Regions from separate parts of the Homo sapiens genome. Here regions 1, 2, 3, 4, 5 and 6 are each linked to region 7. The links are contacts of gene promoters, found by promoter capture Hi-C in human tissues and cell types (Jung and others, 2019). All regions are on one chromosome and are shown on one strand. The core of a region is centred on a gene start or on the middle of the fragment in contact, and the rest is flanking DNA. Distances in the headings are between cores, read along the strand shown.

Region 1 (3,378 bases), core at 551-3,050, 420 kb after region 7:
TAGAGCCTTGCCAGATGTAGCTGGTCCCTCTGTGGGGAATTCTCTCCCCAGTGAGCATGTTGATGGTGGGCTGTCTTGCCTTAAGTCTTCAATGCAATGTCACCTTCTCAGAGGAACTTTTTCCAACCACTGTTGTTAAAATTTCAGCTGCCCCTTTACATTCCACATCCCTCTCCCCTGCTTTAGGTTTCCCATAACACTTACTACTGTTGACATACCACACACCTGACCTATCTGGCACTTTCTTCTCTGCCTCCCTCCCAAGAAAGTGACATTTCTGACGGCAGGAGTTATTGTCTGTTTTGTTCGGTAGCTCCACTGCCTAGCACTGTGCATTGCACATAGCAGGTCCTCAATGAATATTTTTAAATGAATAAATGGATAGACGAATGGATGAATTTATGGACAGATGGGGATGGATAATGGATAGATAAATGGTTGAATGGATGGATGGATGGATAGATGGATGGATAAATGGATGGATGGGTGGATGGGTGGATAAATGGATGGGTGGATGGATGGGCAGATACATAAATAGATGGATGAATGAGTGTGTATCATTCCTCTAACCCAGAGAAAGCACAGTTGGCTGCATAAGAAGTGCCTAAACTCGAGAGTACTGGGACCACCAGCGGAGATTCTGATTCAGTAGGTTTGGAACAGGGCCTAGGAATATCATTATAATAGGCTCCCCAGGGTTCATCATATACAGTGAAGTTTGAGTTCAAGGGATGACAGAGAGGTCCACAAAAGGTTGGCTTGAACATCTGGCTGAATGATATGTTATGTACACATTAGACACTCAGGGAACATTCTCTGGGAAGGACGGGATTTAAGGAGAGGTGACAGTGGCCTTACTTTGTTTGAAGAGCATGTCGTCTGTCATATGTCTTCCTTCAAGCTTTCACAAACTGTTTACGCTATGACCCAAATTCCACCTGGAAAATGCATCAATAGAGCATGTACTGTAGCCTCCTCCATCCTCAACAGCGGAGGTCATTCATCTCCTCACTTCTTTGCTGGGAAAGTGATGGGAACTTGCAGCAGCAGAGACTCCTCATAACACATCAGCCCACCTGTCACCTGCTGTCATAATCAAACGTCACCTTCAACCAGCACCTTGCATGCTCTGAGCTTGACGCACATTTTTGCACTGCCTTTTCAGGAGTCACTTCATCCAGTTCCCTGGCAGTTACTTTCAAGCTAGAAGACACTAGCTCCATGTTCCACAGTATTTCATGCATGCCTGTCTCCTAGCCTTGCCAATACAGTGTCATGAAGAATCTGTGCACATAAAGGTCCAGTCATCTTTCATCACCAGGGCCTGAAATGAGTGGTCATTCATTAAATGTTTGCAGGCAGGAAAGAGAAAGTAGGGGGAAGGAAGGAGGGAGGGAAAGTGTAATAGCGTGAAGCCACAGCAGTTTAGCAGAAATAAGACACAAGGCACTGGCCAGGTGCAGTGGCTCATGCCTGTAATTCCAGCATTTTGGGAGGCTGAGACAGGAGGATCACTTGAAGTCAGGAGTTTGAGACCAGCCTGAGCAACATAAAAGTATCTTTAAAAATTAAAAAATATATACAAGCATTAATTTAACAAAGATGTGAAATGATAAGCAGTAGCAGAGGATAGCGAGAAGAGTGGAGGCACAGCTGTTTAATGGATGCTGCCAGCACCCCACCAGCATCACCTAGGTACTCTCCATTCATACACATGCCCATGGCTTGTGACCTTCAAACCCCTGTGCCTGCTGCATGAAAGAGTTCAATGGCTGCAGGGCCAGGCATGGCTGACCAAGCTGGGGAGTTAATATCCCAGGGCTGCTCTCAACTATGATGGAAGGCAGCGAGTGGGTGAATACCCAGCTTCCTCTTCCCCCAGCAGAATGTAGCGGATGAGCCCGAATGCCCTCGGGGCGGGGGGGTGGTGGGGACCTGCTTACAAGAACTCCCTGCCTTGGTTTCCCACCCTCCCCCACCCCTTTCCCGACTCACTTGCCATGGCTCTCTAGGATCACCTCTAAAATACATGACTTGCACTCACATCTTGGTTTGGGGGTCTGCTTCTGGGGGAGCCCAACCTAAGCCAGTCCCCAACTGGAATAAGCTAAGTCACTTGCACAGATGTGAGACACGTTAGAAGCTGCAATCGTCTCACATTGTCTCTGAGGCCTCTGAAAATGTACAGAATTAGTAAAAACCCTGCTATTGACTAAAGAAAGCCTCAGATCTGGCATGACGGCTAACCAGTTATAAAAATAGTTGAAAGTAATTGCACGCTTCCAACGACCACCTCCGCCCCCGACAGGGTAATGCTTCAATTCCCTGCTCTGTGCAGTGATTTCCTGTATCCTTATTTTCATCTTCTGACTCCTCTGCTGCTGTAGGAAAAGTTCCCTTGTGCAGCTCAGCGCCTTTTTCTGTTCAACCAGTTCCCAAGCATCACCCACTCGGGAGAGCTGTGCAGGAGAATCAGGCTCTGTGCGTCTACACAGGGAAGTGACCCCGGCTGAAAAAAAATATTAACAACTGAAATGTACACAAAATGGGGTACATTTTGAGTGTGTGGGCATGATTAGTTATTTAATCTGAGTTTTTCTATGAGAGCTACAGACACAAATGACCAATTATATAATGACCCTATCCTGCTTCAAACTGATTTCTTGGCTTGAGGTGGGGGAGGCTGGCCCTGTGCTTGCCATTCTTCCCCTCACGGCATGTGTCCTTCATGGGGTCACCACCTCTTCCCACGTCTGTGCTCCTCTCCAGAATGGCACCTCCCGAGAGCAGACGTAGTGTCTTGCTCACCTTCGTATTCTCCACAACCCAAGCAGTGTCCAGGGTCATTCAGGAGATGCTGGCTGAGTGAAAGCAGATGGGTGAATTCATGGGCTTTTGCTCATTTTCTCTCTGTCCTTTAGGTGTCAGAAGACATGCACTTCCAGGAAATTCTTTTTCCAAGAACCTGCCTTTATAGGGATGCTTACATTTTAAAAGGATCATTCAGAGGAACATAAAAGTTTATACTTGCTTTTATTCAGTCTAAGAGTTGTCTTTTAACAGAAGAGTTTAAACATTTACTTTGCCATATTAACTGATTTGCTTGGTCTTAATTCTGTCATCTTAATTTATGATGTTTATTTATGTTTCCCTCATGCTTCCAATGTATTTCCTTCCCTACCTTTTGCCATATTGCCAGGCAGTACTTGTTCTCTTTTTTCTTGATGATTTGTGCATTTTCTGTTTACTTCACTAACAACGGTAATGCTTAAGTTTGATTTGCATATATATACATATATATATATAAATCAACATTTGTATAAACTGCATCCTTTAGCTTTCTTATGTAGGATGAGATGTTAACATGTAGCCTGTTAT
Region 2 (3,497 bases), core at 364-2,863, 480 kb after region 7:
GAAAAACTAAGAGAGAGGGTGTTATGGGCTGAATTGCATTCCCTCGAATTTCCTATGTTGAAGTTCTAACCCCTAGTACCTCAGAATGTAACTGCATTTGGAGATAGGGTCTTTGCAGAAGTTAAGTTAAAATTGTGGTCATGATGGGGTGGGGCTAATCCAATATTAATGAATATTATAAGAAGAGGAATTCACAAACGGACACATACAGAGAGGAGATGATGTAAAGACACAGGGAGAAGGCCATCTACAAGCTAAGAAGAGAGGCCTGGAACAGATCCTACCCTCATGGCCCTCAGAAAAAAGCCAACCCAGCCAACACCTTGATCTTGAACTTCTAGCCTCCAAAAGTGTGAGAAAATAGATGTCTGCTGTTTAAAAATTTCTGTTATTTATGGCAGCCCTACTACAATAGGGTTTATAATGGCAGCCCTAGCAAACTGATGCAGAGGGTCTTGTGCAATTGCTATTGTGAAACTATACAATTTAAACAGCCTAATATTAGCCCCATGATAGACAAACAGACCAGTGCAACAGAATAGAACATCCAGAAACAGGCCCATTAGAAAAGTAAACATTTTAATCTGACAATACCAGTGCTCATACTCTCCAGGCACTTGGTATGTACCTTGGCAAAAACGGAAGATGTGCATGTCTTTTTACCCAACAATTCTCCCTTTGGATGCGTATTCTAGAAAAACTCTCATGTGAACAAAAGGTAATGTGTGTATGATGCTCATTCTAGTGCTGTCCAACAAACAACAATAAAAACCACCTAAATGCCCATCAATAGAAAAATTATAATATATTCACTTGATGGAATTGCTTTTCCAATCTGAAAAAAGTCTTTATTCATCTTTGTTTTTGAAAAATATTTTCACTGGGAACAGAATTCAAGATTGGCAATTTTTTTCTTTCAGTACTTTTAAAATGCAGCTCCAATGGCTTCTCACTTGCATTGTTTCTTCTGAGAAATCTGCTGTCACCCTTATCTTCCCTCCTCTTTATTTTGTCTGTCTTTTCCTTTTGTCTTTTTTGTATGACTGCTTTTAAGATGTTCTCTTAGTCATTGGTTTTAGCCAATTTGGTTAGTATGTGCTTTCGTGTAATTTTCTTCACATCTTCCTATACTTAAGGTTCTCTGTGCTTATTGGATCTATAGGTTTATAATGTTCATCAAACTTGGAAAATTTTGGCCATTATCTATATAAATATTTTTCCTGGCCCCTTCCCTTTGGTGATTCCAATTACATATATATTAAACACCTGACATGATTCACAGCTTATTGATGTTCTGGAGGTTTTTTTCTGTACTTTTCCCTCTTTGTTTCATTTTAGATAGTTTCTATTACTAGATCTTAAAATTTACCAAGTTTTCTTCTGCAGTGTCTAATATGTTGCTAATCCTATAATTTATTTTTTGTCTCATACATTGTATTTTTTTCATCTCTAGGAGTTTGTCTTGTGTCATTTTTATATCTCCCATGCTTCTATTTAACTTTTTGAACATATAGAATACAGTTATTATACTGATATTTTAATGTCCTTGTCTGCTAATTTTAACATTGGTGCCAGTTCTGGGTCAATTTTGATGGACTGACCTCTCCATTGAGGGTTATATTCTTCTGCTTCCCTGAATGCCTGGTGTTGGGTGCTGAAAGTTGCTGTAGTCCTTTCAATATTATTGAGCTTTATTCTGGGATGCAATTAAGTTACTGGAAATAGATTGATCCTTTTGAGTCTGGCTTTTAAGATTTTCTAGGTAGGACCATAACAATGCTGAGTCTATTTCTACTTATTCCCCACTGATTAAGGGAAGGCTCTCTGTGTATTCAAACCAAATGTCCTGTGAATCATGAAGTTCTTCAGTCTGGCTAATAGAAACAGGCACTGTTCTCAGGCCTTGGTCAGCTCCAGTTACTTCCAGTCTTTTTGAGTAGTTCCTTCCCCAAACTTGGGAGGTTTTCATGTGATCATAAGTACTCACTGGAACCCTCAGTGGTGACCCTCTGCACCCTCTGTATGCCTCCTGGTCATTCTTCCTGTGCAGTACTCTCCTTGCTGGAATTCTGTCCTGTGAGCTCCTGCCTCTGGGATTTCTCTATACTCTCAGTTGTGTCTCTCCAACTCAGGGACTCCACTGAGCTCTGCCTGGGTTCCCCCTTCTCTGAACAGGAGCCTGGAAACACTATCAAGGAAGACAGACTGAGCAATTGGAGGCCTCATTATTGTTCATTTGCTATCTCAGAGGGTTCACTGCCCTTCATTGTTTGATGTCCAGTGACTTGAAAACATTATATCACATATTTTGTCTGTGTTTTGATTGTTTCAGGGTAGAAGGTAAATAAAATCCCCATCACTTCATTTTGTCTGGAAAAGCAAGTGCATTTGATAGAATATTGCAGCTTTCATAAGTGAACTAGATTAATAATTAGGATTATATGCAGTAACACAGACCTTGACATTAAATATTGAGTAAAAATAATCCAATTTGAAGAAAAGTGTATTCTGTCTGAAACTGTTTACATAATTTCAAAACATGCAAAGGTATCCTGTATACCAGTTTTATACAGAGAAACATAAACATATGTATGAGAAACACCTAAGCCAATGTAAGGGAGATGATGCATCAGGAAAGAGAAAATTGGAGGAGAGGACTAGGGAATAATAAAATGGGGTTTGAACTTTATCTATAATGTCTTATTTAAAATAAAAACATCAAACAAACATGTAAAAATGTTAGTATATTAGCATTACTTAGAGCTAATGGTTGACTAAAAGAATACTCACTATATATTTTTATGTCTCCCAATTATTTCTTAATTTAAAATATCTGTTATTTAGGTTATTAGCAGCTTCTACTGTGGAGAATAGATATTGAATTTGCCTTTCAGGCTCACCGCCCTGCTCACCATCCTTGCTCATATTTGCATAATTAAACAGTTCACAGAGGTGTCTTCCTCGGGAAAAAGAAAACCCTCTTCTAAGAAGGAAATATCCAATAATATAATTCTAAGGAGTTAAATTGTTGTGGGTGGTTATTGGAGATTTTTTTTTAAATGTAGGCAGAGTTCTAAATTCTCATCTGCAAAATAGAAAAATCTGTTTTGATAAATACTCATTTAGACTGACCTGTGCATATCTATTATTGCTCATTCTTGTGTTTTCAGGGAAATTAGTGGTGTGTGTGTGTGTGTGTGTGTGTGTGTGTACATGTGCACATTTTCTTGTTCAAGGATAACAGGAATAGAGAACCTCAAAGACTCAGGAGGATTTGTAGGCTCCACTCTCAGGGTGATATAAGAAGGAATTGAATTCCCTTGCTGTCCATTCTGTAATATTATTTAATATTAATTCACGAACATCCCAGTGCATGAATTGATGTTAGGGCTATTGCATGATTATCGTGGGGGGCTAGTCTACACCCCTGTGAGAAGTGTCATGTTTCTCTTGATGAGAGTGAGTAGTCCCAGTGTCACATGTGACAGGAAGAGGAC
Region 3 (3,570 bases), core at 438-2,937, 400 kb after region 7:
GACTAAACTGTCTGGGTAGTCTGAGAGCAGCACCATTTTATCGTAGGATTCCTGAGATTTTCGGTTCAAACCTGAGAGTGCCCCTTGGGAAGGGAAACCCCAGCACACACAGGCCTCTGATGTTAGCCCGGCTCAGTGCCCACAAGCACATCTCCATCTCAAGGGCCTTTGCCCCACGAGGGCCAGGGTGAAGTCTCCTTGTTTCAGCACCCCCAGGGACGCTGGGTGATGACTTTTCTCTCTGCCTTCCTTGGGGCCAGGTCTGGAGGCCCAATGCCACCTGTATTCGACCTGCATAGGGGGCTGTGAGTGTCATCTTCCCTGGGTCCAGGGCCACATTTATGTTTTCTTTGTATTGCCACAATGCATCTTAATTCCCATCTGCATTCTCAGCTAAGGCGAGGCCCACCCCAGCACATCACCTCACCCTGATGGGCTCCCTGGCCTCTGATCCCTGCACAGTTGGTGTCCTCCTGTGCCTCTGGGACATGTGGGATGGACCCAGGCTGCTCCCCTCTGCGCTCGCCTTCCTGAGCTCTCCCACTTCCAGGGGCCCTGAGCGTGCTCTTAGGCTAGTGTGACATCATTCATGACAGCAGAGTGAGAGTTCAGATTCATTGTCTTTTCTTTCATGCACTTTATCTTTCAGCCATGTCAAGAGCTGGTTTGAAATGCAAGGTATGGTAGGAAAAATCTGTTCAGCTATCTCTGGAACAAATAGAAGGAATTGTGCACTTTGACAGCCACGTGTAGGTTCTTTTGATGTCCAGCACCTTCCTCCCCTTCAGGGTGTGAGGCTGGCACACCTCTATTTGGGACACATCAGTGTACATTGATCTATTAAAACCCATTGGGCTTAATGTGGCTCAGGCAACAAATGCCTCAAGCACACTGCAGAGTTTGTGCACAGCCTATTGTCGAAGTGGGATTACACCGTGGGGTGGATACCTCTTTCAGAGGAGACGTAGCCAACTCTAGTGGGTGTTTATTCTCAGAAGAGGTCAATAGATGTTATGAAACACTTGCAGCTGGGGGAAGAGATTCCAAAACATGTGGCAAGCAGCACGGCTCTCTCTGCCTGTTGGTATCACGGGGCAGGACAAGGCATCCATCCTTCTGGACAGCATATGTATGATAGAAAATAAAGTCACCCTGTTTGTTCTTAGCACAGTCTGAGCAAGACTGAAGAAGATCCTCTGAGAATCAAACTGAGCAGATGGCTCAGGGTAATGTTATTTGACTTCCTCTAGGGCCACCCCAAGAAGTTCAATACAACACCATCAGTACAGCTCTTCTTGACTGTCACTTTATCACGGATTTGAAAAGCAACTTAAAATGTTTTGCCCTATCTTTATTGGACTATAAGCTCTGAAATTATCCATAAAATTGTTCCTATCAAATGCAAGATAGTATGACCTGCAAAAGACCAGTAAAATTTCAGAACTATGTCTTTTATTAAAAGTATAAGGCAACCGAGGGTTGTCTGGCTCATTGGCTTAACTTTTTTTGTGGTCACTAAGCATTATAATTTCCAAAATGAATCCATAGTGGAAAAGTAGGGAAATAGAAAAGAATTAAAGATCTGAGCTTGGCAGGAAAACCCAGGAACAGGAAGGGGTTAGGCCCATAGGAACCAGAAGTATGGCAGGACAAAGGCCTTCAGGAAAGCTCATCACGTCTGCTAGACAAAACTGCATGGGGGAATTACCTGGCTGTGACACTGTAGGATAGGTATGCAAGATGATACCACGCGGGGAAACTGGGCGAAGAGTACCTCGGCTCTCTCTACAGTACTTCTTACAATTGCATGGGAATCTTCCATTATCTCAAAGTAAAAGGTTTAATTTAAGAAAAACTGCACAGGCAGTGGGTGTACGGTTCATCCCAGTCCCTTCCCTGCCACCTGTGCATCTCTTGCTCCATCTTCAAGTTCTTAGGAAAAAGAGAGCGTTGTTAGGAGTGTAGGAGAGGCTGGACCCCTTCAACCCCTGTGTCTCTGGCTCATCGGTTAGCCATGCTGGTTGGAGAGAACTGTCTTGCAGGGATGGCTGCACCTGAGGCCGTGTTTTTGACCTGGCATCCTCCCCTTCCCAAGGTAACCTGCTGATGAGGACTCATTGCCAGCGGGCACGAATGCTGTACAAACAACACCTGTTCTCACATCTTAAAAAAGGATCACAGAAGTTTGAGACGCAGCCACCTAGATGGGAGACACACTGACAGCATGATCCCAGCACTCCCAGAGAAAAGAAAAGACCCCAAATGTGGAATATTCGTATTTCCTGTGGGGATTGTGAAGGGAGATCTTGGAATGTGAAAGCAGCCCATTGTTCAAGCTCAGCACAGATCCCAGTGAGGATCTGCATACAGTAGCAACTCAATAAACATTGCATTTGAATGAATGAATGAATGAATGAATGAATGAATGCTGGATCCCACAAAGCTGTCTTTAAATGCATCTCTAAAAAGAGGCTAGAAAGAAAAGTCTTTCACAGTTCAGAGGCCATTGTATCTTACTGTTTCCCCATAACTTGGGCCTTTGTGATCCGACAGAACTTTTAGGTCAATGCTTGCAGTCAAGAGGAAGGTGAGTACCACCTCCTCACTGAGGATACCTTTTTACAATTGGAGGGGTGGCTTCAATAGGCATCCAGTCTGGTACCCATTGTCACTAAGGATGCCTCAATCTTAATTGCATAAAAAAGAAAACAGCTGTGTTTGCAGTCATCTCCCAAAATGCAAATGCTCAATTCTAAATAAATGCTTTCACAGGTTAAGTTGTGCAGTCTTGGGGCTACATCTCACAACTAACCCCTCCCAGCAGATCCTGAGGGACCTTGGGGGTCAGGAACAGATAGGCATCCGTCTCTTTCTCTGGGGTTCCTCCAGAGCTGAGGCTGGTCACATGTGGTACCTGCTCCCCATTTTTTTAGGATAAAATGCTCTGTCTGAGACTGTTAAAAAAACAGTTAACAAACTGTTAAAAAAAACAAAAAACAAAAAACTAGACAGCAGATGATGATTGACCATCCTTCAAATTCCCATCAACATTTGCTATCACAGGACATCAGGAATATTGGTTAATGGTTGGTCAGGCCCCTAGAGAGATGGCCACCAATTAAAGCAAAAGCAGTGACATAAAGAAATTCAACTCATATTATGACCTGTAAGTAGGGTGAATTATTACTAACCTACCCTTCAAGTCACCATTCACTGGTTTTGGGGAAAAATAATTCAATGTTCATTCTATTTTAATAATCAATTCCATCTGATAATTTCAAAAAAATGTTTTGCCTCTTTACTGGAGAAAATCAAAACACTATTTCTGAGATGCACGCCCTCTCTGCCTGGAGTTTGTTCCAAGATGCTCCTCCCACGTGTAAGAGGAGTGATGTTGCTTGTGTGGACCTGTGCTTGGAGGGGTGGGGCTGATGGTCCCTGAGCTTGGAATTTTTGGTGGCTGTGTTGCAGGAAAGGCGGTCTCGATCCAGACCCCAAGAGAGGGTTCTTGGATCTCCAGCAAGAAAGAATTCAGGGCAAGTCCATACAGTAAAGTGAAAGCAAGTTTAT
Region 4 (3,655 bases), core at 165-2,664, 370 kb after region 7:
GGTGCAGTTTCTGTTGAAGCATTTTTTGAAAGCAGTGTAATCTGACTTTCCAATACACCTGACAGGCAGCAAAGCACCACTGACACAGTGACGCTGGGACCTCCCCAAGGTAGCTAACTTGTGAGCACTCCCATTTCATTCCACAGGAAGTAGGGAGTGTCTGTCCCTGACAGCAGGGAGCACAGGGTCTGGTGAGGAATAAGGGGCCCCTGCAGGACCTGGGGTGCCTGGCCCACTTCGGCACCACCTCCGGGTGCCTCTGTTACCTGGTGGGCAGAATCAAACACCCAGGATGGGAGACTGATCCATTCCAGAAGACTTTGCCCATCTTCCTCATCTGGGAATGACAAGAGGCAGGGCTAGGGTATGGAGAGCCCATGCAGGCCCCTAGCCTGGTTCCCCTCCCCCAGGAGTTTTGTGGAAATGATTCTGGAAAGGTTGGAGCCAAGATGTGCCCCTGCCTGATCCACTTGGCCTCCTCCCGAGGGTGCACGGGGAAGAAACAGACACTTCCCTCTGAGCCACTGAAGCATCTACTCCTCCAAAGGACCAACCAGAGAGGGGCAGAGCTGCTGGCCACCCCCAGGGTTTCCTCCCAAAACTCGGAGCTTGTCCTTCTCCCAGGACGGGAGCCAGGCAGCTTTATTGTCCGGTGGGAGACGACACTTTTCCAGGAGGGCTCCTTCCTGCACTCTCCTGAAGGCGAACCTAACCAGAATCCAAGCCAATCCTAAAGCCAGGACATATGAAAAGTCCCTATGTTTCAACATTTGCATAGAATATAAACTTAAAGGTGAAATTTTGCCCATGTAAAGTCCTGGGCTGTCTACCCAGGTGGAGGGCTTGGTGTCCTTGTTGATGTCATTATTTTTCAAGCAACATCATAGACTCTGCAATGCAGCAATAGAGAATCCACTTTGAATCCCAATGCTACATGAGCTTCGTTCTTTTTTTCAATGGATTTTCATGTGGAAGCAGAGCAGACTCAAATTGACATATTTTACTGCCATTTACTAATCTATTGCTTAATAAAAGCCCGTTTTTATATTATTTGATCATATGATGCCCTTCAAACTATTGTTTTCATTTGTTGCCTTTAATTTACACCCTTCATATCCCACATCTCTTTCATTTTGACCATGACACAATAGTGACATGGCGGTTGGGCTATATCACGTTGCCATACGCTTAGTGTACTGGAGGTTTTTATTTGATTTTAAGCTTCTGGGAAAAAATATGGGACTTATTTCAGTGAAGTGTGAAAAGTTCTGTTTCTCTGTGTGCTGTCAGTGTGCATTTTGATCACATGACAATTTCAGGTTTGCTAATCCCTGATAGCAGAGATCATGTCCTGCCTGGAGTCAGACAGGTGCCAAACATGCTGCCCCAAAGCTTCATGATGCCAGCGGGGTGTGGGTATTGTCCTCACTTGCCTTTCTCTATAACCGCATCCACTCTCTCACCCTTGATCACTTTGGTCCCACCACAGTGGCCACCTTTCCATTGCACCTGCCTTTATCACCTGCCTATGAAGAGAGCCTGTGATACACAGTTTCATGTGGAACTGACTGTCATAGCATAAAGTTAATTAATTTTTTTTTTTTGAGACAGAGTCTCACTCTGTCACCCAGGATGGAGTACAGTGGTGGGATCTTGGCTCACTGCAACATTTGCCTCCTGGGTTCAAGCAATTCTCCTGCCTCAGCCTCCTGAGTAGCTGGGATTATAGGCCATGCGCCATCATGCCCGGCTAATTTTTGTATTTTTAGTAGAGATGGGGTTTCACCATGTTGGTCAGGCTGGTCCCAAACTCCTGGCCTTAAGTGATCTGCCCACTTTGGCCTCCCAAAGTGCTAGGATTACAGACATGAGCGATCGTGCCTGGCTTAAAGTTAATTAACTAGTACCCTCATCTATTTATTCCAGCAAATATATACTAAGCACCTACTGTGTGCCAGGCACTGAACTAGATGTTGGGCAGTCAGTGATGGTTGGAACACATCTTCTTCACGGATCAGAAACTCTTCCTGGGGAGACACATGAGCTGGATTATGAAACACAATGGAAACGCAGTGAAAAATATAAACAAGGTTGTGTGAAAGAGGACCAGGAGAGAGTGTGCATGTGTGGGTGTGTGTGCATGTGTGTGGTGTGGGTGTGGTGGCGGCATTGGACAGTGGGAGGAAACCACTTTGGCAAGGCTGGCTGGGAACCCATCCCCAGAGAGAGAGAGAAATTTCAGCTAAGCCCTGATGTGGGAGGAGCCAGGCACAGAAGGAAGCACATTTTGGCCAGAGGGAGCAGCACACAGAAAGTCCTGGAAGCACAGGAGACATGGGATGATAAAGGCAGGTGCAAAGGAAAGGTGACCACTGTGGTGGGAGCAAAGTGATCAAGGGTGAGAGAGTGGATGCGGTTTTAGAGAAGGGCAAGGAGTGTCATTTGAGACTTCTTAAAAATCAAGCGTTTTATTTTAGAATAGTTTTAGATTTACAGAAACATTGCAAAGATAGTACCAAGGGTTCCCATCTACCCTGAACCCATTTTCCTCTACTGTTAATATCTTACATTGGAATCATGCATTTGTCACAACCAACTAACCAACAAGGACACACTATTATTCAGTATTCACAAGTTGTCTTTTTTGAGCCTTTCCTTACTTTCTGACTACAGGATACTCCAGGCTCAACAGGTTTATTTCTTGCCCCAGCCCTAGAATCGGTCAATTCTCCCAGGGAGCCCTGATTCCTTTTACTGGAAAGTGATATTAGAAACCAAGATGTGGGTGCTAGGCATGCTTGATACCACTGGGATGTCATTGCTTCTAGGCCCTTGCAGCCAAAAGCGCTTAGAAATGTATGTGTACATATATGCATACCTATACTTATTTCTCCATTGATCCATCTGTATCTATATGAGGCTAAACATGAGTTTGATGTTTCCAGCTCTAATTCCGTATCACACAAATCATTCCAGCTTCCTCCCCTTGCTTATCTCTAATCTCCCACTGCAACGGGAAGAAACCTGGCTCCTGACATTCTGCACCCATTTACTTAAGTGTCCCATTCTATATCCATGTATGGTGGTGCAGAGTTGCTAACCCCTAACCCCATAAGAAACATCGCTACCATCTAAAGCAGAGTGCTTGTGAGCAGCTCTCTTTGACTGTGGTCTTACAGACTCCACTCCTTTGCAAAGTCACTAGGGTCAGCACCCTGCACCCTTCAGCAAGGCCGTGCCATACATTTGCAAGTTAGATTCTTGGGTCACAGTCTGCATTGCATCCTGGCATCCCCTGGCCTCACTGAAGGCTTGTTGCATTGGGTGCCTTGCTCATGCACTCTCTGGCTACTGTGATGTGGAGAGACTTCAGTGAGTCAAGACAGAAGACAGGCACCAACACTGCACCTGGCGAGAGGTTTAGACCTGGGAGGTGGCCATGGAGAGGAGAATATGTAGATGAGATAAATTTTAGACACAGAGCTATGGATTTGAATTACATTTTTGAAGTAAGTACAAAGATGTCCCAGAGGGAGCATCTCTCTCCATTAAATGTCCTGAAACCAGAAGTCTTCACCCTCCTCTTCCCAGCCCCCATGACACTGGGTAGGAGGAATCCTTAATTGTGACATCACCATACCCCAAAGAACCACGC
Region 5 (3,697 bases), core at 436-2,935, 460 kb after region 7:
GCCCACAGAGAAGGCCAGCCCTCACCCTAGGCCACAGAGAAGGCCAGCCCACACCCTGGGCCCACAGAGAAGGCCAGCCCTCACCCTAGGCCACAGAGAAGGCCAGCCCACACCCTGGGCCCACAGAGAAGGCCAGCCCACACCCTGGGCCCACAGAGAAGGCCAGCCCTCACCCTAGGCCACAGAGAAGGCCAGCCCACACCCTGGGCACACAGAGAAGGCCAGCTCCTCACCCTGGGCCCACAGAGAAGGCCAGCTCCTCATCCTAGGCCCACAGAGAAGGCTGGCTCCTCACCCTAGGCCACAGAGAAGGCCAGCTCCTCACCCTAGGCCCACAGAGAAGGCCAGCCCTCACCCTAGGCCACAGAGAAGGCCAGCCCTCACCCTGGGCCCACAGAGAAGGCTGGCTCCTCACCCTAGGCCACAGAGAAGGCCGGCTCCTCACCCTAGGCCCACAGAGATGGCTGCAGTATTGCAGGGAGACCCAAGCAAAGCCATCCCTGTGGCAGAGATGCTGACATTAACAACAAAGGCAGGAACTGAGACCCAGGTGGCACTCACTCATGTGGCACTCATTCCTGTGGCACTCACTCCCATGTCACTCACTCATGTGGCATTCACTCATGTGGCACTCTTGTGAGCCAGGTAGTCTTCTCCATGCTGGGCATATGATGACACATTGAACTCCTAACAATCCTGTGAGGGAAGTGCGAATAGCATCAAACCCCTCGCACAGATGAGGAGACTGTAGCAGTGAGAGATGAAGTAACTTGCCAGGCTAGCGTTCGTGGAGTTGGAATTTAAACTCGAGCAGCGTGGCTCCTGGGCTCATTCTCTTAACCCCTATGCTGTATTTTCTCATGGTATGGGGAAAGAGGAAGGAGGGAGGGAGTCAAAAGCCAGAGGCTGAGCCTGGGTTTAATTCGCTGGCAGGGCCCCCTCACACACACACCGCCAGCAGGGGAGGTGGCTCTTGTTCCATGTCCTGGCCCCAGGGCAGCAGTCCCGTGGATGGATTCTGGGCTGGGAAAAGGAGATGCAGGAGTTGCTGGAGGTATGTCTATGACTCTGTAAAGGGATGGTCTGAATTCCCTCCCAGACAGAGTGAAAGTCTCGCTGTGTGAGTGCCATGGACACAGCATGTGCACCCCTCCAGCCCAAGTGGTGTTATTGAAACAAAGGTCAGATCGTTTCCTATTTAAAAGCTTCTCCTGGCTCCCCATGTCACTCAGAAAGCTTGTTACCATGGCCCAGAGACCCCTCTGACCCCACGTTCTAACTCACCTCCCTCCACTCCCCTCACTCTGCTCCATCCTGTGGGCCCCCGAGCTCCCAGCTCAGGGCCTTTGCACATGGCGCAGCCCCTTCCTGAAACTCCCCTCCCTTGCAGAGCTGCATGGCTTACTCCTTTACTCAACACAGGTCTCTCCTCAAATGCCACCTTCTCAGGAGGTGCCTAGGACCAGCCTGTGCCAAGTCACCTTCTCCTTGCTCTGCTTCCTTTCTCCATGCACCAATGCCATGTGGAGTGCACACACTACATACAACACCTTGAGGGGTCCACACACAACACTGTGTCAGTTATACACACAACACCAGGTGGAGTCTACACACAACACTATATGGGGTATACACACAACACCATGTGGGGTCTACACACAACACCAGGTGGAGTCTACACACAACACCATGTGGAGTCTACACACAACACCATGTGGAGTCTACACACAACACTATATGGGGTATACACACAACACTGTGTGGGGTCTACACAGAACACCATATATAGTCTACACACAATACCATGTGGAGTCCACACACAACACTATATGGGGTATACACACAACACCATGTGGGGTCTACACACACCACCATGTGGGGTCTACACATGATGCCATGTGAAGTCTACACACAGCATGATGTGGAATCTACACTAACTTGTTTATTTGCTTGCTGTATATCCGCATCCCCCCCACACATCACTAGAACTTAGGTGGCACGAGGGCAGGAACTTGGATGTGTTCACTGCTGTAACCCCAAATGACTGCTGAATGAATGGAATGAATGAACACAAAGCGTCCTCCCCAGCTGCACATCTAAAGCAGGAGGAGCCCCTCTCAGTTGGCCCCTGGGGTGCCTGTATTGAGTTTCTCTCTGTGGATGCCAACCATACATGGCTGATGACGCTCCTGACAAAGCCCAGTGGAGGTTTTGGTTGCCTATTTCCCCTCTTTTTTAAGCTCTGTACCAAAATTGATTCAGATCATCAGATACAGGCACCCTGTTCCTACTTTGTTAACTTTTCTCCAAAACACTTCATAGAACCCTGAGTCAACATCCTAGCTACGGCTCCTATGGAAGTTCAAAGCAAGAAACAAAATTATGTCCACTTTTAGAATAATTATGTGAACTTTTTGTTCTTAGTAAACTGCTATAAGCTTAAAATGCATCAGCTTTCCCAAGCTTCCTATCTGGCCTGCTTACTGTGTAATTGCCATTTTTAATGGTAACATATTTTAACTGTATCACATCACTCTAGTAGAAGAGATTTGCAGCAATATTTACTTCTTTGGTCATATTGTTATCATGATGAATAAACGGGTATGGTAACATCAGAAGATTAAATTCTCTCTCTTAATGGAAAATTAACTCTGAAACCAGACATTCTAGAATTTCTGTTTCCTGGAGCAATGGTTCCTGATTTGTGGGCAGCAGAGCCCTGGGGGACACTCCAAGCCCCATCCTTCTTCAAGGAGTCTCGCAGTCATTGTAGGCGCCAAGTGCCTCCTGCATACTAACTAACAGTCTTGTGCACCAAGGCTTGACTGTCATGTAAATGTGTCCTCACAGGACTTTGAGATCAACAAGTTATGACCTCACATATGCTTTTGACAGTAGGTATTTTTCAATCAAACTGCACCTATTATCATGCAGAAGGCTCTCAAATAGCTAACCTCAAAGGGATCTGTGTGCTCTATAAAATTTAGAACAGCTTCTCCATAATTTGGAGTCTTTAGGAGAATACAATATATTCTAATGGAGATATTTATCATCAGAAGTTTACAAAGACATATGAAACAAAAGCTCAGTTGCAAGACATTAAGAGACAGTGCAAATAGCAAGCAATTAACTAGGAATTTTCTTTGGTCAAGTTTCTTCCCTGATATGAAACTCACTTCATGTTTAGCTTCCCCTGTTCTAAAAATCCAGCAACACTACAATAAGTTCACTCTCTGCATTCACTTCATACTATGTTCCTAATGCTGCACTGGCAACTTTGCTGCTCACTTTTAATTAAAGCACAAGGGTTGTGGGAAAAACGACTTCTGCAGGCATTGTAATCACTCTGAGGGACTGCTTTATCTGTCCTCTAACTCTCTATGTTGGCCTCTGAATAAAGCTGCCCTCAAATGGGTGGACAGTCAAGTACTCTTCATGGGGGTCTTAGTTCTAGAAGGCACAGAGATGACGTATGTGGGAATTCCAAACACAGGCAGGAAGAGGGAAAACACATGGAAGTGATTTTAGTGCCTAATTTTGGCTATCTCTATACAAGTATGACAAGATCGAACACATCTGAAAGAAGGAATCGGCACTGACATTTTATATCAACTCATTTAAGAGCATTGCTAAATTCATCGCAACCTTTGATATTCAAGACCCATAAATATCAAGACGTGTGCGTGTGTCTATGTGC
Region 6 (3,684 bases), core at 980-3,479, 450 kb after region 7:
TTACCTCCCTCAGCTCCTATTCATGCAAACCTTTGTCCAGGAAAACTGGGGGGCATTGAAGTGACAAACGCAGGGCAGGACATTGTTCCAATTCCGGTTTCAGTACCAGATACCTGTATGACCTCAGCATGCTGGGCTTCGGCGTCTGCACTGAACAATTACAACACTGGACCAAGTGACCGCTCCATCTCTGTCCAGCAGGTCTGCTCTATGATAAGGCACGATTTGCTTTCCGGTATCAGCAGCTCAACAGCCCCTGTTCTGAGTGTCACAACAGTCTCCAAGATGGGTGTCCTGGTGATTTGCTGTTTTATAAAGCACACAGCTGTTATCCATCAATTCAGCCAGAGGATCTTTCTTTGCAGGCTCTGCTGACTGTTACAAAGGAAATAAGTAGTAGCACAAAGGAAACAAGACATAGTTATTCTCAAAGGGCTGAGAATCTGGTTGGAGAAATCAGACAGATTCACAGATGGGCAACAAAAGCTGATAAGAGGGCCGGGTGTGGTGTCTCATGCAGGTAATCCCAGCACTTTGGGAGGATGAGGTGGGTGGATCATTTGAAGTCAGGAGTTCAAGACCAGCCTGGTCAACACAGTGAAACTCTGTCTCCACTAAAAATATAAAAATTAGTGGCAGGGTAGTGGCATGCGCCTATAATCCCAGGTACTCAGGAGGCTGAGGCAGGAGAATCGCTTGAGCCTGGGAGGCGGAGGTTGCAGTGAGCCAAGATCACACCACTGCACTCCAGCCTGGGCAACAGAGTGAGACTTCATCTCAAAAAAAAAAAAAAAAAAAGGCTGATAAGACAACAAAATAAAAGACAATGCAGTGTAGTAGAAATGACCCTGGGGCTCCTTTTTTCCCCACTGTATTTTTTTTATTCTTATGGATCTCGGGGGTAGGAAGGTAGTTCTGTTACATGTCTACGTTGCATAGTGGTAACGTCTAGGCTTTTAGTGTACCCACTGCCCAAATAATGAACACTGGTCCCAACAGGTAATTTTTCAGCCCTTACCGACTTCCCATCCTCCCCACCTTCTGAAGTCTCCAAGGATTCCCCTGTATGTCCATGCGGGCCCACTGTTTAGCTCCCACTTCTAAGTGAGAACATATGATATTTGACTTTCTGTTTCTGAGTTATTTCACTTAGGAGAATGGCCTCCAGTTCCATCCATGTTGCTGCAAAACACATGATTCCATTCTCTTTTATGGCTGAATATATACACCACATATTCTTTTTCTTTTTCCTTTTTTTTTTTTTTTTTGAGACAGTCTCGCTCTGTCACCCAGGCTGGAGTACAGTGGTGCAATCTCAGCTCACTGCAACCTCCACTTCCGGGTTCACGCCATTCTCATGCCTCGGCTTCCCAAGTAGCTGGGACTACAGGTGTGCACCACCACACCCGGCTAATTTTCTTTCTATTTTTAGAAGGAGTTTCGCCATGTTGGCCGGGCTGATCTCAAACTCCTGACCTCAGGTGATCCACCTGCCTCAGCCTCCCAAAGTGCTGGGATTACAGGCATGAGCCACTGCGCCCGGCCCCGCATATTCTTTATCCACTCATCTATTAATGGACACTTAGGTTGATTTCCTGACTTTGCTATCATGAACATTATTGGAATAAACATAAAAAGATGGAATGCTTCATGAATTTGTATGTTATCCTGTGCAGGGGCCGTGCTCATCTTCTCTGCATTGTTCCAATTTTAGTGTATGTACTGCTCAAGTATACACCAGGACCCTTGGGTTCTATGTGAATTAACTCTTTTGCCTGTTAAGTCTCGATATTCTTGCCTACTAAATGGGGTGTCAGACTACATGATCTCCAAGATCCCTTTATGGAGTACATAATAATTAACTTAGGGAGGTGCAGAAAAAGTGTGTGCACAGGTGGTTGGGCCATTCAGTGTGTGACAGAGGCTGGGCTCTGCAGTGTGGGTCATAGTCAGAGATGTTCACAGGGCAGGGCCCCGGAGGCCACTGGAGGCCATTGCCAGCACAGAACATGGAAAGCCCAGATGCCCGAGGTCGCCAGGAACAGGACATGTCTACCAGAGAGGCTGGAAGGTGGGAGAGAGAGCACTTGGCTGGAGTCACCTGTGCCTTCCCAGGGAGGACTCTAGTGTTTCCACTTTGTCCCACTGACACTGGGGAGACTGGAAGGATTCCAAGCATGGGATACGGGATGAAAGTGGCACTGCCAAGGGGGTCTGACTGCTCCTAATGAGAATGGCCCTCACATGGGGTCTCCTGGTGCCACTGGCATTGCAGTGTCTCCAGGGGTTTTCCCATACTGGAAGGAACTAACAGGTAAAGAAGATTGAGGCAAAAGGTGAGAACCTCAAGGAACCTGAAGCTATTTGATTTTCTACCAGGGGGATTTCTACCCTAACTTGCCATCTCCAGCAGTATAGAGGTTTTGAGCTGTTCTTGATGCCTTGGAGTGATGTAACAGACTGGGGCACCTGGAAAAATCAAGTCAGCTTCTTTGAGAAACCTCTACAGGAAAATCAAACAACACTCATTCCCAAAACAACCACCACAAACCAGAACACCATCCTTTTTGGCCACAGAGGACAAGAAGGAGGGGGTTTTCTTGTAGTCAGATCCTTGATTTATCAACTGCCTGAATTGAAGTCATTCTCAGAAATAAAGGTGCAAACTAAATTGCAAAGGGGAGGCAAGTCTTTAACCCCAAGCATTGTTTTGGGGAAGACGGATCTCTTTGCCTAACTGAAGGGTAATAAACATTTCTTCCACAGCTGTTGAAACGTTTATACCTTTCACCATTGAGACAAGAAGACTCTGACAAAGAAAGCAATCAAAATGTTAACAGAAGGACTGGATAATGTTATATTGACTTCTTTGGAATTACTGACCTTCCATGGAAAGAGAATGGCATCTTCTAAAAATTAAACATTATTCTAAGTCTAGGACACACTTCTTTCAAGCAGCCTAGGTAAGACGATTTAGGAAGTTAGAAATGCAAACATTAGCTCAATAGATACAAAATAATTTAGTCTTATCCTTTCAATTTTTCCGATAAGTGAAGTTAAGGTGAAATGTCTAACTAATTCTCACAAGAAAGCAGGAATGCAGGGGGAGAATTCCATGAAGGAAGCCTTTGATCATTGCACCGCAGGACAGACGGGCATTCCCTCTGCGCTGACCGGCGGGAGTTAGAGTCCCCACATTGTGCGGTGGCAGCCTCTGCTTACTCATCAGAAGCTGCCTGGCTTTCCAAGCTTACTCCAGAAACTTGTAGAAATTTGAGAAAATGCAACCACCTCTGCTAGCAAACTAGTCCCTGGGACCCCCTGAGTCTCTGGCATTTCAATCACCTCCCACCTTCTGCTAGCATCTCTTCTGAGTTCCTCTCACTAAGGCCCTGCCACGGAAGGCTGCTCTACACCCAGTGCTGGTCCCTAATGCTCACTCAGCTTCGGCCACAGCCCAAGTCACCACTGGCCAGGCCTTAGGAGTAGGATGCCATGAGTCCAGCAGGCAGATTTAGCAGCAGAGCTTCGGGGCACCTGCCTTGTGCCGAGCCGCAAGGTCCACGGAGCTGAGCCTTGTCCTCTTGTTGTCACTTCTAGTCCCTAATAGGGGCTCAGCAAACATTTTTTGAATGTGTCACCAGAAGAAAGCCTGAATGCATGCATTAGAGTTGGAAGTGAGAG
Region 7 (3,316 bases), core at 663-3,162:
CGGGGCTGTGGGAGGGCGCGAGGCCGTGTGTGGGTGCGGGGCTGGGTGCAGGCCGTGGGTGGGCGCGGGGCCGGGGCTGGCGGGGCAGGGCGCAGGCTGCTGCAAGGCGGCCTCGTGGATTCTGGCCCCGGACGCACGAAGCGGGTTCTACTTTTTAAAAAAACTGCGTTGCCTTTTCCTTCCTCTACGTTAGCATCCTGTCCGGGGTCCCCGGCCCATGTGGCCTTTCTTCCAGCGACAGTACACTTAGCTCAGAACGGATTGACACCCACTCTGTGTTTCCACCGGGCGCGCAGGCTCTGCAATGCGGAGCGCGTTCTCTGAAGGACAGGCCCCGGAGTCACGGCTACAGCCACAGAAAGCGGAAACCGAGCTGCAGTCCAGAGGGGATCCCCGTACATTTCCAGCGGGCTCAGACACAGGGTCCCCCACAAGAAAGAAACAGGACAGAAAAAGTCAGGACACGTATGCTGTGGAGAGTCGAGGTCTCGCCTAGATCTTGGGTGTGGGTAGACGCAGCCGCTGGCAGTTTTCCTTTCCAGCGTCTCTGGGGAGCCTGGAGATGTCCTTGGTGCCGATGTGACACGAAGAGTGATTGCGCCGCCCTGCAGAGGCGGTGGCGGGACGCTGCGCTCGGGCTGGGAAAGGCCGGCCCCAGGGCGACCCCTCCGGAGGCCCCCGGAGAGCAGGTGTGCACCTCGCCTCCCGCTGGGCAGCCAGTTCAGGAGAAAAATGTGAAGCTTTTAGCTAAACAAAATATTTCTTTCGTTAAGGGCTTTCTCCACACGGAGACTTTCTAGCCACGTGAGACTTTGACCTCCCAGTCCCCCAGATTCAGCGCTGGGACCGAGCGTCTGCTGTTATTTTTAGTAGAAGTATAAAAAGAATCTCGAAAAGTTTTAGCTCTGGAGAAGGCGTGAATACAGCTGGTGCCTTCATACACTCCACTTGAGCCGCTCTTTAAGAACTCCAGGAGATCAGAAAGCAATACGAAAGCCAGAGCATTGCACATGGGATGGGCTGGCGGGTGGCCTTTGGGTCCCTATCTTATGGACGATTTTTGTAAATGGGGCATTGGAGATGAGTATCACCTGGATCACATTTTTAGGTTGAATTCCTCCGTGGGGGGAACTTTAGCAATACGCATCCAAATAAGAATGTAGATTGCAATAATTGTAGTAAAGTGTTTGCCAGACTCATCTCAGAAAAAGACATTATCAAAAGGCATTTATTATCTTCCTAATGCGTGTCTGGCACTGGGCAGACACTGTAGAATACTATCTTGATTAGAGTCTCAAGGATTTTGTACTTAAAGTCCTTTACAAATAAAAGTATTCAAGTATAATCTATTATAAAGACTCTTTTCTCCACTTTGGGGATATACGGTGTGGCATCGATTCATTGGTCATACCAAAACTGTTACTTCTGTTTTGGAGGAATTAACAAGGAAAACCCAGGCTTAGTAAATCAACATCGAAGTTCAGAAGTTCAGAGTAATTTGTCTTGGGAACAAAGTCCTCCCTAGAGCGAAGAGGCATTCACAGGAGCTCTTGGTGTTAATGGGATTATTCAAGATATACCTGAGACCAGATAAATATTTGATGATTTTGCCAAGCACTAGGGTTTCTTTGCAGTTTGTCTTTGGCTGACGTTTTCCCCCCGTGGGGTTTGGACTTTGTGGCTTCACCAGATTTTGCAAATGAAAGAAGGCTGGGGTTTCCCAAGAGTACACTTGTGCAGGAAACAACAGACTAGTGAGGTTTACAAGAGGGGGGTGTGTGTGTGTGTGTGTCTGCCTGTGGGATGGGGGTGGCACGGGGGAGAGAGAGATGTGGGTTACAAAGCTGCCATCTAGAGGCTAGAGGCTCCTTTCTGCAGTGTATATAATGCAAGTCTGCAGCCAGCAGAGCTCACAGTTGTTGCAAAGTGCTCAGCACTAAGGGAGCCAGCGCACAGCACAGCCAGGAAGGCGAGCGAGCCCAGCCAGCCCAGCCAGCCCAGCCAGCCCGGAGGTAAGGAAACGGTGCTCGGGCAGCAGCTCTGCTCGGAAAGAAGGCACGGCTTCTGCTCTTAAGCCAAGTGGTCTTTTCAAAGGCCTTCTTTAAAATCGCTCAGATGGGTGCTTTTGAGTCTGCGGGTCTGGTTTCTGAAAACCCAGGCTGCACGCAGCTGCATTGCAAAGTGCTTTTGCTAATTCGGAGGGCTTCACCTTTCTCTTCAGAAAGCAAAGGGCAGTTTTCTTAAGTCACTTGCAGAAGGAAATTTCCATGTGTATTTAGGAATCTGGTGTTTATTTGCTGTGTGGCTATTTAAGCTCCAGTAAGCAGGGGAACTTTGCAAGAACACAGACTATCCATTCTGCCTGACCAATTTGGCATGGGGATTAGCTTGGCACCCACTGTTTACCTGTTTTGCTTCTAGTATATCAGTTTGGAAACAGATAAAATTGGCAGTAAATACGTAATTCCAGAATGATGAACACTTTATTAAGAGGCATCCTTAAATGGAGCAGAAAACTGCTGAGAATCTTTGTGAGTCCAAGATGTATTTGAATTCAGTACTTTGGGGGATTTACCAGAGTCTGTAAGTCCGGAAGCTATAAACGTGAATGTTAAACACAGCCCGGTCTTCTCTTCTCTTGATGGCACGCTTGCTAATCTAATTTGAGTATTGTTCTCTTAGAAGGTGTTAAGTCCAACTTCAATTGGGGTTGGGGGAAGCACACACACAAATCTACTATTTTGCAATTTAAATATACTCTTCAGGTAAAATGTGGATTTTGTTCAATTTTGTTGGCATGTGCAAAGATTCAAGGAGTGACTGAGAGAACTTTGGAGTGAGGTCAGGGATGGGTGGTTAGCCAAGACTTGTAACTTCCAGGGAGAATGAGAAGTTGTAAAAGTCAGACTGGCTGTCTCTCTTTCTCTCTTCCTCTTTCTTTCTTTCTTTCTTTCCTTTTGCTCACAACAGGATTACTTAGTGTTTCAAAAGTGGGAGAGAGCCTCCTTAAATGGTTTACAGCCCTTTGAATGTATTTGGTGCAGTGACATCCCCTGAAACTTCAGTCTGCAAAGTCTCAACATGGTAACTTTGTTCTTTTCTTTTTTAAAGGCAGATGCTGCTTTTAGTGTCCCTTTATTTATTCCAGGAAAAATGTGGACATCAGCTAGGCACGCCTAGCAAAGAAAGTGGAGGCTGCTGGTTTCTGTGCTTTAACTTTCCATAGATTTTAAATGGATAAACTGCTTGCCCTTCTTTCATCAGAATATGAGCTTTCCCCAGATGGAAAGTCTTTTCTAAAGCAAAGTTGCACATG

What was found. Contacts are between HindIII fragments. The study calls those that stand out against the background at their distance.
Region 1: a fragment that was not itself captured here is called in contact with the fragment with the promoter of ACKR3 in region 7 in 4 of the 25 tissues and cell types used here (aorta, bladder, liver and 1 more).
Region 2: a fragment that was not itself captured here is called in contact with the fragment with the promoter of ACKR3 in region 7 in 1 of the 25 tissues and cell types used here (lymphoblastoid cells).
Region 3: a fragment that was not itself captured here is called in contact with the fragment with the promoter of ACKR3 in region 7 in 2 of the 25 tissues and cell types used here (dorsolateral prefrontal cortex and mesendoderm cells).
Region 4: a fragment that was not itself captured here is called in contact with the fragment with the promoter of ACKR3 in region 7 in 1 of the 25 tissues and cell types used here (mesendoderm cells).
Region 5: a contact is called between a fragment that was not itself captured here and the fragment with the promoter of ACKR3 in region 7, in 6 of the 25 tissues and cell types used here (H1 embryonic stem cells, aorta, dorsolateral prefrontal cortex and 3 more).
Region 6: a fragment that was not itself captured here is called in contact with the fragment with the promoter of ACKR3 in region 7 in 7 of the 25 tissues and cell types used here (dorsolateral prefrontal cortex, heart right ventricle, mesenchymal stem cells and 4 more).

What each region holds. Positions count from the first base shown.
Region 1 is chr2:236,992,159-236,995,536 of GRCh38, forward strand. All of the region lies in intron 1 of COPS8-DT (COPS8 divergent transcript), which reads right to left. Among named protein-coding and RNA genes, the nearest start is that of COPS8-DT, 92 kb to the right of the region's middle. The HindIII fragment of the contact is 7,647 bases long and covers 1-3,378 here.
Region 2 is chr2:237,047,811-237,051,307 of GRCh38, forward strand. All of the region lies in intron 1 of COPS8-DT (COPS8 divergent transcript), which reads right to left. It overlaps LOC105373950 (a long non-coding RNA gene), which reads left to right. Exons shown (of 3, transcript XR_007088140.1): 1 at 1-3,497. It overlaps LOC93463 (a long non-coding RNA gene), which reads right to left. Exons shown (of 7, transcript NR_135202.1): 5 at 3,133-3,497; 6 at 1,602-2,370; 7 at 789-1,156. Among named protein-coding and RNA genes, the nearest start is that of COPS8-DT, 36 kb to the right of the region's middle. The HindIII fragment of the contact is 8,637 bases long and covers 1-3,497 here.
Region 3 is chr2:236,963,484-236,967,053 of GRCh38, forward strand. All of the region lies in intron 1 of COPS8-DT (COPS8 divergent transcript), which reads right to left. Among named protein-coding and RNA genes, the nearest start is that of COPS8-DT, 120 kb to the right of the region's middle. RefSeq lists an enhancer at 2,109-2,610. The HindIII fragment of the contact is 8,467 bases long and covers 1-3,570 here.
Region 4 is chr2:236,936,133-236,939,787 of GRCh38, forward strand. All of the region lies in intron 2 of COPS8-DT (COPS8 divergent transcript), which reads right to left. Among named protein-coding and RNA genes, the nearest start is that of COPS8-DT, 150 kb to the right of the region's middle. The HindIII fragment of the contact is 5,409 bases long and covers 1-3,655 here.
Region 5 is chr2:237,030,942-237,034,638 of GRCh38, forward strand. The region is part of intron 1 of COPS8-DT (COPS8 divergent transcript); the gene reads right to left. Among named protein-coding and RNA genes, the nearest start is that of COPS8-DT, 53 kb to the right of the region's middle. The HindIII fragment of the contact is 3,540 bases long and covers 1-3,455 here.
Region 6 is chr2:237,013,572-237,017,255 of GRCh38, forward strand. The region is part of intron 1 of COPS8-DT (COPS8 divergent transcript); the gene reads right to left. It also overlaps the pseudogene RNU6-1051P. Among named protein-coding and RNA genes, the nearest start is that of COPS8-DT, 70 kb to the right of the region's middle. The HindIII fragment of the contact is 6,899 bases long and covers 1-3,684 here.
Region 7 is chr2:236,567,913-236,571,228 of GRCh38, forward strand. It overlaps ACKR3 (atypical chemokine receptor 3), which reads left to right and starts at 1,913. Exons shown (of 2, transcript NM_020311.3): 1 at 1,913-2,012. RefSeq lists enhancers at 1-273, 274-1,149. The HindIII fragment of the contact is 7,550 bases long and covers 1-3,316 here.